3 separate regions of the Homo sapiens genome follow, and all the other regions are linked to region 2. The links are contacts of gene promoters, found by promoter capture Hi-C in human tissues and cell types (Jung and others, 2019). All regions are on one chromosome and are shown on one strand. The core of a region is centred on a gene start or on the middle of the fragment in contact, and the rest is flanking DNA. Distances in the headings are between cores, read along the strand shown.

Region 1 (3,904 bases), core at 808-3,307, 470 kb before region 2:
ACACGGCAAAACCCTATCTCTACTATTGTGCATGCCTGTAGTCCCAGCTACTCAGGAGGCTGAGGCAGGAGAATTGCTTGAACCCGGGAGGCGGAAGTTGCAGTGAGCGGAGATCATGCTGTCATACTCCAGCCTGGGTGACAGGGAGAGACTCTGTCTCAATAAATTAAAAAAAAAAAAAAAAGTATCCCAAGTCCCCAAGTCATAAGGCTGATAAGAACAGGTCCAGGGAGTAGCTCTGAACCTATTCAAAAAAAAAAAAAAAACGAGGAAAAGCCCAAAATTGAAGTGAGGTCTCCTGACTCCCAGTACAGTCAAAGACACCATCCTTTCATTTTTGTTTCTTTTTTGGGGGGCGGGGGGGACAGGGGGGCAGTGTCATCCTAACCTGGATAAACATCTCAACTCTTTGTTGAGTCAGGGAGAAATAATCAATATCCTGCCTTCTGTACCTAAGACAGCAAGTACTGCTGCAGGTCTCACAAGGTCTACCTCAAGAACTTCTGAGACTACAACAGAGGGAAAAGGCAAGCCCTAGAGTGGATCTGAAAAACGCTTATTTGAAAGAATTCATCGAGACTGCTCACGCCACTTGCTGACTGTTGACTTTGACATCAGCCACTTCTTACCTCTTCCTGCCCCAGGAGAGACCTGCGGTCATAGCACTGGGGTCTCTGGGATACAGCTAAGCCTCCTGAGAGACTGGAATGGGATGGGTAGGGGCTACACGAATAATGGTTTAATTAACATTGACAGTATTAATAGATTAATACTGCAGTGGGCTTGCTGTAGTGATGGTCTACCAAGGAACTTGATTTTTTAGCTTTAAAAATATTCTAAAAGATAACTCAACAAAACAATGTAAAAACTGGCAACCCCCCCATGAGGCTTTACCAAAAAATATATTCTAAACTGTATCTTCAAAACTGTAATTTTAATTATACTTTAATTATAATTTTAATACATGATTTAAATAAAAATAGGATCTTACATGCATTCTTTCACCATCTGCTACACTTATTTTCATTTGAAAAGACACCATGGCCATCTTTCCGAGTACCAAATACAAATTTACCTCATTTGTTAACAACTACATGTTGAGTGGAGTAAACATACCTTAATAAATCCCCTACTGATAGGACCCTTGAACTAATTTTTTTTTTTTTTTGCGATTATAAACAATGCTGGAAAGAACATCCTCTGCTCACTTGGGCCTCTACCCCCACAGGATAAATTGAATTGGAAATGGAATTATATGATGACAGGCAATGCATTGATAGATATTGCCAAGGTAAAACTGCCCACCTCCCAAAGAGTTTAACTAGTTACACTCACAACACCTGATTACAGAATACCTGTCCTCTTCTCCTTTGAGGACAACTAAAATGATCATGTTTATTCTTTTTTCCAGCCTGATGTGCGGGAAATACGATTTTAATGGCAACTCTGATCATCAGTGAGACAGCAATCTTGTTGAGCTTATTGACCTTTTGAATTTCTGTACTGTGAAGATCAAACTAATCACAACCAATCCGTCGTCCACCTTTCTACCAGTGTTTCAGCAACGCTTGTGAGACAAAGCAAAATCCACATCTGGGCAACAGAGCAGTAGGAATGAACAGAAAGAATTATAAATTTAAGTGAAACTCAAGTTGTATGCCAAAAATAACATTCCTAAAGGGCACCCAGGCAAAAGTGATGAGAAAATACTATTAAAAAGGACATCTTTTGCCTCAATTAGTCACACAGTAGACAACGTAAGCTGATGACCTGAGACACCTCAGCCTGCCAAAGTTCCGTTTCATTCACAAACATTAACCTACTCTGCTTTAAGAGAAGGGCTCCCCCAAAAGGTAATTGTGCTTGCAGAAAAGCGTCAAAGTGTATACTGTTTTGCGGGGTATGCAGACCTGGGTAGATGGTAGACTGAGGCTGACTGACAAGGCCAGGTTAGGGAAGCAGTGAAGTAGCTGAAGGCACAAACTGGAGCCAAACCACTAACTCTAGCCTTTGCCTCAGGGTCTACCTCGACCTGTGATAACAACAATACTTGCCTCCTACAGGTGACAGGAAAAGTAAGAAATGTCGTGAATGGTGTGGCCCATGGTCACTTCACCACGATCCACCACCAGTACTGGGTCACTCTGCTCCAGCTCTCCAAAGGCATCAAGATCCGACTGCTAGGAGCCCCGGCTTCTTCCCTGACCTGCCCGTCTCCTACACCCTCTGGTCCTGCTCCACACTGGTCTAATAACTGGTGTTCCACATTCCTCTAACGTGCACAACACAGTCCTGCCCCCGTGCTTTTCACCTCCTGTCCATTCCTCTTATAACGCTCTTCCCCAGATCGCTGCCCATGGCTTGTTTGCTCATCTCAAGTTTGAATCAACTGTCGCTCAATCAGCAAGGCCTCCCCACTATGCCAAACTGCCACTGTGTCCCCCACTCCACTCCCCTCGATACTTTATTTTCCTCCTTTCTTCTTGTCCACATTGGACATACTGCATATCTGCTGGTCTGCTGACTGCCTGACACCGCTTACCAAAACGTGACCTCCGTGAAAGTGCAGGAGAACACACTTGCATTTTCCTTACTGTGTCCCACTTCCTGGAACAGTGTCTCCAGCACGAGCCGTTGTCAGATCAATACATTTACACTACTTCGTGAAGCACCACTAAAATGATAGTAAACGATTTTTTCTTTTTTTAAGATACAAATCACGAAAGCAAAGAATAAGAATAGAGATAAGAACATTAAAATACTGGAGGCTAGAAACTGGAAACAGACCTAAAAGGGCTGAATCCTGTATCGGCAATGGGGAAGGCCAACTGGCAATATGACTGGAAGCCAGGAGACCTGAATTAAAAACAGAGTTGGCTGATAGGTTTAAAAGGCACGAAGATCCCTAAGATGCACCCCACAACTCTGCACAGCCACACAGAGCCAACCTGCACAGTCCCTCTCCTATCCTGGCAAAAAGGTATCGCTTTTCTGTCTGCAAAGGGAAGTAGAATCTTTGGACTGGGGACACCAGTTACAGAGGAGGGAAACAATTCTGAAAAGAGGGAAGTAAGCTCTTTTATGGTTACTGCTGTGCTCCCAGGCCTCTCTCCTCACTTGGCCACTCAGCCAGGCAAAGGGCTACAAGATATTTCTCTGGGGAATCTGAAGAAACCCAAAGAAGCTGACAAGGGTGCTGTAAGGAAATGGCCCAGCCAGGTGCCTCTGCAGTGAAAGCCACAGTCAGCCACAGACACAGGCTCAGAGGCCCTCTGACTCACGAGCAGGCACAAGAACATCACTGCATAGCCCAGAAAAGGCTGACAAAAGCCAAAAACCCACAACAAACCAGAGCAGCCTCAATAGTGACTTAAGGAAAAAGAAAACAGGGAAAAATAAAACCTCATCAATATCTTCCAACAGTTAACAGGAGATACCACATTCATGAAACAAAAAATAGGTTATAAAATAGGAATAGAGGGAACAAGAAAAAGCTCTTAGAAATGAGAAAAACCTTGGTAGAAGGGCTGGAAGACAAACTTGAGAATAACTTCCAGAAAGAAAATGAAAAACCAAAGGGTACAAAACATCAATTAGACAGGAGGAATGTGGTTTTCTTTTATGAGATATATTGTACAGCACGGTGAATATAGTAAATAATAATGTCGATTTCAAAAGTGCTGACAGTAATCTCATATGCTTTCACCACAAAAAACTTAAAGTATTTGAAGTGATGAATTATGTTAACTTGATTTTATTATTTATTGTATCCATAAATCGTAACATCACTTTGTACCCCCTAAATATGTACAAGTATAATTTGTCAATTTACAATTTAAAAGATAAAAACAAAAACAAAAATTTTAGAGGGGGGAAAAAGAAACCTTAAGAAAATTATGAGTGC
Region 2 (3,758 bases), core at 201-2,700:
GGCGTGTGTCCCTGGCAGGTTGCTCTCCACCGGCCCCACCGTTTGTAACACATGGCTCGGCCAAGGTGATTCTGGGGTAAGGACCCATGAGGCGCCATCTTCTTTGTTCCTAGGCTGAGCCTGTGGTGCCCTGGGCAGGGTGGGTGGAGGAAGCAGCAGGGAGGCTCCTTAATGGTGGAGTGAACACCCACACGGATGTCTCTGGATAGTGGAATGCGGAGGATGCAGGGCACGCCGGTGGAGAGCTGCCCAGCCGTGCCAGCAAGGCCCCGGCATCCCTCCCACCTGCCGTTAGCACCGGGAGCTGCTCTGCTGGCCCCTCCCACAGACTCGGGCTCTGGAGGTCTACAGAGCAGCTGGGAGGGTGATGCCTAGGCGGGGGCGGAGATGCCAGGCCCCTGGGCTGCAGGTGGAGGTAAATGGGGAAGGGAGGCTGGGGGTCTCTGGGCCTTTCGCCAGCAGCCGCCCAGCCCAGGGTCTCTGATGCCAGGGAGGTCCATGTGTGCTCGGCCCCTCCTCTGAGCCCCTCAGCCCAGCCTTGTTTCTGCCTCCATGGCTATGGGGCCTGCACCCATCCGAGCCAGGCACTGGCTAGGGCAGGGAGGCTGCCTTGGGCTGGGGCCAGTCCCGGAATCCAGGCTCAGCTGGCACCGACAGGGAGGGGTTGTGGGAAGGTGACCAGCCGTGTGGAGAGCTTGGCGTCGGAGGGCATGGTGGGCACCAGCGCTGGTGGGATGTGGCGAGGGTGGTGGTGACTCATGGCGCGTGGCCCGTAGCTCTGAGGAGCATTTGCGTTTTCCTGTGGATTCACTGTAGCGCCTGGTCACAATGTTGCAGCATTTCCCTGGCTGCTTGTCTCGGAATTAATATCTATTTCCTGAAAAGAGAAATGAACTTTCTTGCAGTAAAATCTAAACAAATATTTATATTTATTTTCCACCTCCATGTCCTGTTTCAAACTTATTGTCCAGCCCAAGATTTTAAAAAGTCAGATTTTCTTTTGGTGTGAAGCAGGCTCAGGAGGAGGAGGAGGGGGAGGAAGAAGAGGAGGACGAGGAGGGGGAGGAAGCTGGGAATTGGGCTGAGCTTTCCTCGCTCATCCTTGCAGTGGCCACAGGGCCCTCTGCCCTCTCGTCTGCGTCAGGTCCTGAGTTCTGAGTCCAGAAGCCGTCGCTGTGCTGTTGGAGCCCACCAAGCCCGTCCCTTGTGGGGACAGCTCCCTCCAAGCCCCCCGGGGGGATGGACACTGAGGGTGGGGCAGGGGAGCAGGGGTAGGCCCCAGGCAGGTCCTCCCAGGGCCTGGGGAACACAGGGGCCCATCGAGGGCTCCCCAGACTCCCTCAGCCAGTTCTTCCCGAGAACAGAACAGTTAAAACCAAGCCCTCCGATGGAGGTGCGGGGAGAGGGCGTGGCTCCCGTCCCAGGAGGCAGGTGAGCTTCTGGGGATTCCAGTTCACCTGCCCCACAGCCGCACCCTGCCTGTGCCTGCACCCTGGGGAGCCCAGAGCCGGCAGGGGCCGAGGCGGTGGGACCTCGGGGGAGCTCAAGCCTCGACTGTCCCCTCGCTGGAGGCCAGAGGCCAAGATGATGTCCATGCTGGGCGGCTTGCAGAGGTAAGGGGGGCAGTTGGACCCCCCAGGTGGACAAAGCGCTTCATCTGTGGCTATTCTGAGAGACGGACAGGAGTGGGTTTTGTTTGTCTTTCGAAGGAAGTGACTTGGATTTGGAGGCTGTTCCTACTCAGGCTTCCCTGAATTCACCTGTCTTGGCTTCGTTTCGGAAGTAGGGGGCCCCTCCTGCCCAGGCCTGGTGCTGCTTCTGGGTGTTTGGGGGTTCTGGGATGTGGGGCCCAGTGAGAAAGCTGCCCCCCAACACTGTGGCGTGGAGACGCTCGAGTGTCCGCGTGACGGCTGGGGAGGGTGAGACCTGCTGGGCTTGGGACCTCCCAGCCTCGGTCTGCGGCTCAGGCCCATGGCTGGGCCGTGTTGGTGGGAGTGCCAGGCGCTTGCTGGAGCGTTGGTCATGCGTGCGCTTCAGGATGCTCCCGGGGCTCTGGGTGGTGACGGGGAGGCTGGGCTCTGCTGTGCTGTCTCCCTTCTGTAAACAGAGGGGAGGTGGATTTCTTCCCAGTTAGGTTTGGAGGGGTGGTGGGTGTGGCTAAGGATGCCTTGCGTTTTCCTTCTCCTGCTCGCCATCCTGTTTGGGGTGATTCCAGGGCAGTTTGAAGCCGTCCCTGCGCTGGCAGGTCCCTGCCTCCCCGGGGCGTGTGCCGCCATGAATTCAGTTACCTTCCTTTAAGGGGTGACTTAAGACCAGCTGCCAGGACACTGGCTGAGGACACCCCGTCACAGGGCTGAGAGGTGTGGGGCCGGCTGCCTGGCCTGGACCATCCTAGATGCCCCCTCCTGTGGACATTGTGACCATATTGTGAAGAAGAGGCCCAGGGGCTGGGGAATCAGGCTCACTTGATTAGCTGGTGGCCAAGCTAGGGCCCCCCTGGCTGCCCTGGGGCCCCCCGAGGTCGGCCAGGGCGGGTGTGCCTGACCCCAGCTGAGACTCTGTGGGTGAGACATGGGAGGCATTGCAGCCGAAGGCCCTCGGGGAGCCCAGGGCACAGGCTCCTCAGCTGCTGGTCTCACTGCCTGGCAGGATGGGCTCACTGCAGCAGCCCATGCAGGCTGCACGTCCCACACTAAGGCCAGGGAGCTTTGGCTCCGGGTGTCCCAGGCTTCATTGAGCACGGCCTGCAGGAGGGAAGCCCCGAGTCACTTCCCCACAGCCCTGGACAGCAGCCTTCCTGAGCCTCGCATTTATTTTCCTGGGGTTGGGCAAGTGTGGGAGGCTCACCTCGCTTGTGTCAGCTTGCTTGGCCTGTGGGTGGAACAAATCAACAGCCCTGGGGACAAAGGGGACGGTAGTGTGTGGTGCCACTGGCACCCACCTGGGTGATTCAAGGAGCTGCCCAGAACAGAGGAGAGACTTTGCCTGCGCTAGTGAGGCCTAGTCTTGACCACCGGCCACGGGAAATCCAGGCCGCCGGGCAAAGTGCTCACTTGGATGCTTGCTGATCTTTTGTTTTGCTGGTGATGATTCAGGCACAAAACTCTGAGCTATGGCACTTGGGGGTGTTGCCTCCCTGGGGTGTGGCCAGGTATCTTTGGGGAGGAGGGGACTCATGATCAGAGAAGATGTGGTACAGAGCCCATGGGGGTCACCATGCCGGTGTGAACCCCCAAAATCTGAGACAGGTCTCGGTTAATTTAGAAAGCTTACTTTGCCAAGGGTGAGGACGTGCACCCATGACCCAGCCTCAGGAGGTCCTGATGACGTGTGCCCAAGGTGGTCAGGGCACAGTCTGGCTTTATACATTGTAGGGAGACATGAGACATCAGTCCGCATATGCAGGACGAACATTGGTTCGGTCTGGAGAGGCAGGACGGCTCGAAGCAAAGGCAGGAAGACTCCAAGTGGGGAGGGGACTTCCAGGTCACAGGCAGGTAAGAGACAAATGGTTGCATTCTTTTGAGTTTCTGATGAGCCTCTCCAAAGGAGGCAGTCAGATACGCATTTATCTCAGTGAGCAGAGGGGAGACTTTGAATACAATGGGGGGCAGGTTTGCCCTGAGCAGTTCCCAGCTAGACTCCTCCCTTTAGCTTGTAGTGATCTGGGGGCTCAAGATCTTTTCCTTTCACATTTCCCCCCATTTTCTCTTTAAAATCTTGGAGAAAGCTCTCCAAGATTTTAGAAGAAAATGAGT
Region 3 (4,197 bases), core at 592-3,091, 290 kb before region 2:
CTAGGCCTAGAACGGTACAGACAGGTAGCCAAGTCCAGGACTTGCCATAAGGATGTGCCATTCGTCCAGGACACCACGTCACAGTGACTGTCTCTCCCCATGGGCCTGCCAGGGCGCCAAGGACAGGGGCTCTAATCCCCAGCTCTGCCCTATCCCTCTTGGCTTATTTGCCTTGACTACAGTGCTACAGTGGTCCTCACTCCCTCCTTGTGGTCCTCCCTGTCAGTGATCTTCTCTCCTTGAGATCCTCCCTTCTTGTAATCTTCCCTCCCTGGGGTCCTCCCTCCCTCCCCAAGGTCCTTCCTCACTCCCTGTGGTCTTCCCTCTCTGGTGTCTTTCCTCCCTGTAGTCCTCCCTCCCTGGGATCCTCCTTTCCTAGGATCTTCCCTCCCTAGAGTCCTCCCTCCCTCCCTGGGATCTTCCCTTCCTGGGATCTTCCCTCATTCCCTGGGATCTTCCCTTCCTAGGATCTTCCCTCCCTCTCTGGCATCTTCCCTCCCTGTGGTCCTCCCTCCCTGGGATCCTCCTTTCCTAGGATCTTCCCTTCCTAGAGTCCTCCCTCCCTCCCTGGGATCTTCCCTCCATCGGCTTCTCCCTCCCTCCCTGAGGTCCTCCCTCACTCCCTGTGATCTCCCCTTCCTGGGATCTTCCCTCCCTGGGGTCCTCCTTCCCTAGGATCTTCCCTTCCTGGAGTCCTCCCTTGCTCCCTGTAGTCCTCTCTCCCTGGGATATTCCCTCCCTGGAGTCCTCCCTCCCTGAGGTCCTCCCTCACTCCCTGTGATCTTCCCTTCCTGGGATCTCCCTCCCTGGGGTCCTCCTTCCCTAGGATCTTCCCTTCCTGGGGTCCTCCTTTGCTCCCTGTGGTCCTCCCTCCCTGGGATTTTCCCTCCCCATGGTCTTCCTCCCCCAGGGCCCTCCCCCAGTAGGGTCCTCCTTCCCTGAGATCCTCTCTCCCTGGGGTCCTCCCTCCCTGGAGTCCTTCCTCCCCCAGTGGGGTCCTCCCTCCCTGGGGTCCTCTTTCCCTGTTCTTTCTTCAAGGGTCTTATCCCTCTGCACTGCCTCCTCCTGACAATGAGCGCCAAAACCCTCAGGCAGGTGTTTGTAAAATTTAATTCCACTTCTCAGGCCCTCAGCAAGAAGAGGTCAGTTTGAATTAGCTCATCTGCCACCACCGGAAGCAGACCCCATTTGTTTTAAAGTATACTTTTAAAAATTACACCTTTATTATAGAAAAAAATAATTGAAAGTATAAGACAGAAATCACTCATCACTGGCCAGTTGCTGTGGCTCACGCCTGTAATGCCAGCACTTTAGGAGGTCAAGATGGTAGGATCGCTTGAAGCTGAGAGTTTGAGACCTGCCTGGGGAACATGGCGAAGCCAAATCTCCAAAAATCTTTTTTTTTTTTTTTTTTTTTTAATTAGCTGAGCAAAAGTGGTGTGTGCCTGTAGTCCCAGCTACTTGGGAGGCTGAGATGGGAGAATCACTTAAGCCCAGGAGGTCAAGGCTGTAGTGAGCCGTGATCGTACCACTGCACTCCAGCCCCAGTGACAGAGTGAGACCTCGTCTCAAAAAAAAAAAAAAAAAAAAAAAAAACACAGAGAAAAGAAACAAGAAAAAGAACTCTATCATCGTACCCACTCAGCAGTGATGGCTGCAGGCATCTGCTGCATGGTTGCCATCACCCACGGGCTGTTTTGTCAGGACACTGGTTTTCCTTTCCTTTCATGGCAGCCCCAGTTCACTTAACTAGTCACCTGTCACTGGACGCTTGGCTGTGGCTGGTTGTTGAGGACTGTAACATTGTTGGATCTCTGTCTTTCTGCACATCCTTAATTATGTCCTTCAGATCAATTCCAAAATGTAGATTTGTCTGAGCAAAGGTGTTTACGGCCTTGGGCACTCCTGCTAAATTGCTGTTGGAGCACCTGCGCCAGCTGACCTTCCCACCTGCAGGAGCTAGGTCTAAACATGCATCTTTCCCTCCACCATGGAAAGTGCTAGGCACCTGTCTCTCTTACTCTTCCCAAGTGGGTAAGGTAAGCAGCCCCATCGAGCAGCCCCATCATTTCACTTTGCATCCCTGCGGACTGTCGGTGAGGCCAGCCTGGCCCCTGTGTCCTGGCATTCCATGCTTTTCCTCTCAGGAATCACTCAGCGTGCTGGTCACTCTGGTCTCCATTGGTCTGTGAGTTTTTTGTACACATTAGTGAAATGTTTATATGATAATGCTCACCAACACTATTAAGTCACAAATTATTTTCTCAGTAACTGCTTTTTACTTTGCCTACAATTTAGTTTTACCTTGTAGAATTTAAACTCCATCTTGATGGGTTCTGTTTCTCTTACTCTAGAATGGCATCTGGCACATATAGGGAACCCAGCAAATGCTTGTTGAAGGTGTGAATTGAAACAGACACTCCTCAACTTATGATGGGGCTATGCCCTGATAAACCCATTGTAAGAGGAAAATAGTATAGTCAAAAATGCATTTAACAGGGCACGGTGGCTCACGTCTGTAATCCCAGCACTTTGGGAGGCTGAGGTGGGTGAATCACCTAAGGTCAGGAGTTTAAGACCAGCCTGGCCAACAGGGCGAAACCCTGTCTCTACTAAAAATACAAAAATTAGCCAGGCGTGGTGGTGGGCACCTGTAGTCCCAACTACTCGGGAGGCTAAGCACAAGAATCACTTGAACCTGGGAGGCGGAGGTTGCACTGAGCCGAGATCACACCACTGCACTCCAGCCTGGGTGACAGAACAAGACTCCCTCTCAAAAAAAAAAAAAAGAAAGAAAAGAAAATGCATTTAATACACTTAACCTCTCTGATGTCATAGCTTAGCCTAGCCTACTCTTTTTTTTTTTTTTTTTTTTTGAGATGGAATCGCTCTGTCGCCCAGGCTGGAGTGCAGTGGTGCCATCTTGGCTCTCTGCAAGCTCCACCTCCCGGGTTCACGCCATTCTCCTACCTCAGCTTCCTGAGTAGCTGGGACTACAGGCGCCCGCCACCACGCCTGGCTAATTTTTTGTATTTTTTAGTAGAGACGGGGTTTCACCGTGTTAGGCAGGATGGTCTCGATCTCCTGACCTCGTGATCCACCCGCCTCGGCCTCCCAAAGTGCTGGGATTACAGGCGTGAGCCAGCCTAGCCTACTCTAAATGTGCTCAGAACATACATTAGCTTACAGTTGGGCAAAATCATCTAATATGAAGCCTATTTTATAACAAAGTGTTGAATATCTCACATAATTTGTTGAATACCAAACTGGAAGTGAAAAACAGAATGGTCGTATGGGCACTTGAAGTTCCGTTTCTACTGAATGCTTATCACTTTCACACCATCATAAAGTTGAAAAATCAGGGCCTATCAGGGTCAGCTCTGGCTGTCTTTTCCTTGAGGGTTTCTATCCTTAGTATGGGCTCAGGAAGTTCTTCCCCATGCCAATATTATATTGGCACCTTTTAATGGTTTCAGTTTTCTCATTTAATTAATCTCCCTAGAATTTGTTTTTTTACTTTTTTGGTTTTTTTTTTTTTTTTTTTAGATGGAGTCTTGCTCTGTGTCCCAGGCTGGAGTGCCCAGGCACGATCTCGGCTCACTGCAAACTCCGCCTCCTGGGTTCACACCATTCTCCTGCCTCAGCCTCCCAAGTAGCTGGGACTACAGGTGGCTAATTTTTTGTATTTTTAGTAGAGACGGGGTTTCACCGTGTTAGCCAGGATGGTCTCGATCTCCTGACCTTGTGATCCGCCCGCCTCGGCCTCCCAAAGTGCTGGGATTACAGGTGTGAGCCACCGTGCCTGGCCTAGAATTTGTTTTGATAGATATTAGATTGAGATGTAACATTTCTCCCCATTATTTGTTGAATCCTTCATTTTCTCACTGATCTCAGACTTTATCAAATGGAAGCCTGTGTCTTTGCACTCGAGTTCTTTCTGGGCATTCTGCTCCATTCCTGTCTGTCCAGCATCAGTCCACTCTCTCTCATTAGTGGTGTCATATGAGATAGTCACTGTTTGGTGAACACATTCCATCCCTTATTCTGCCTCCTTTTAAAAAAGATTCTTTGCTATTCTCAAGCATTTAATTCTTCCAAGTAATCTTCTAAGTCATTGGACAAATTCCTTACAAAAACACCATGGAGATTTCAGTTGAAATTGCATTAAATTTTTGTGTTAACTTACGGGAAGACTAA

The links. Contacts are between HindIII fragments. The study calls those that stand out against the background at their distance.
Region 1: a contact is called between a fragment that was not itself captured here and the fragment with the promoter of GAL3ST2 in region 2, in 1 of the 25 tissues and cell types used here (lymphoblastoid cells).
Region 3: a contact is called between a fragment that was not itself captured here and the fragment with the promoter of GAL3ST2 in region 2, in 2 of the 25 tissues and cell types used here (dorsolateral prefrontal cortex and spleen).

Annotation. Positions count from the first base shown.
Region 1 is chr2:241,306,722-241,310,625 of GRCh38, forward strand. All of the region lies in intron 1 of HDLBP (high density lipoprotein binding protein), which reads right to left. Among named protein-coding and RNA genes, the nearest start is that of HDLBP, 7.0 kb to the right of the region's middle. RefSeq lists an enhancer at 2,683-3,184. The HindIII fragment of the contact is 9,441 bases long and covers 1-3,904 here.
Region 2 is chr2:241,775,372-241,779,129 of GRCh38, forward strand. It overlaps GAL3ST2 (galactose-3-O-sulfotransferase 2), which reads left to right and starts at 1,451. Exons shown (of 4, transcript NM_022134.3): 1 at 1,451-1,613. The coding sequence starts at 1,585. RefSeq lists enhancers at 1-263, 1,505-2,125, 2,126-2,746, 2,747-3,366. The HindIII fragment of the contact is 16,655 bases long and covers 1-3,758 here.
Region 3 is chr2:241,484,892-241,489,088 of GRCh38, forward strand. All of the region lies in intron 21 of FARP2 (FERM, ARH/RhoGEF and pleckstrin domain protein 2), which reads left to right. Among named protein-coding and RNA genes, the nearest start is that of MIR3133, 9.1 kb to the left of the region's middle. The HindIII fragment of the contact is 9,439 bases long and covers 1-4,197 here.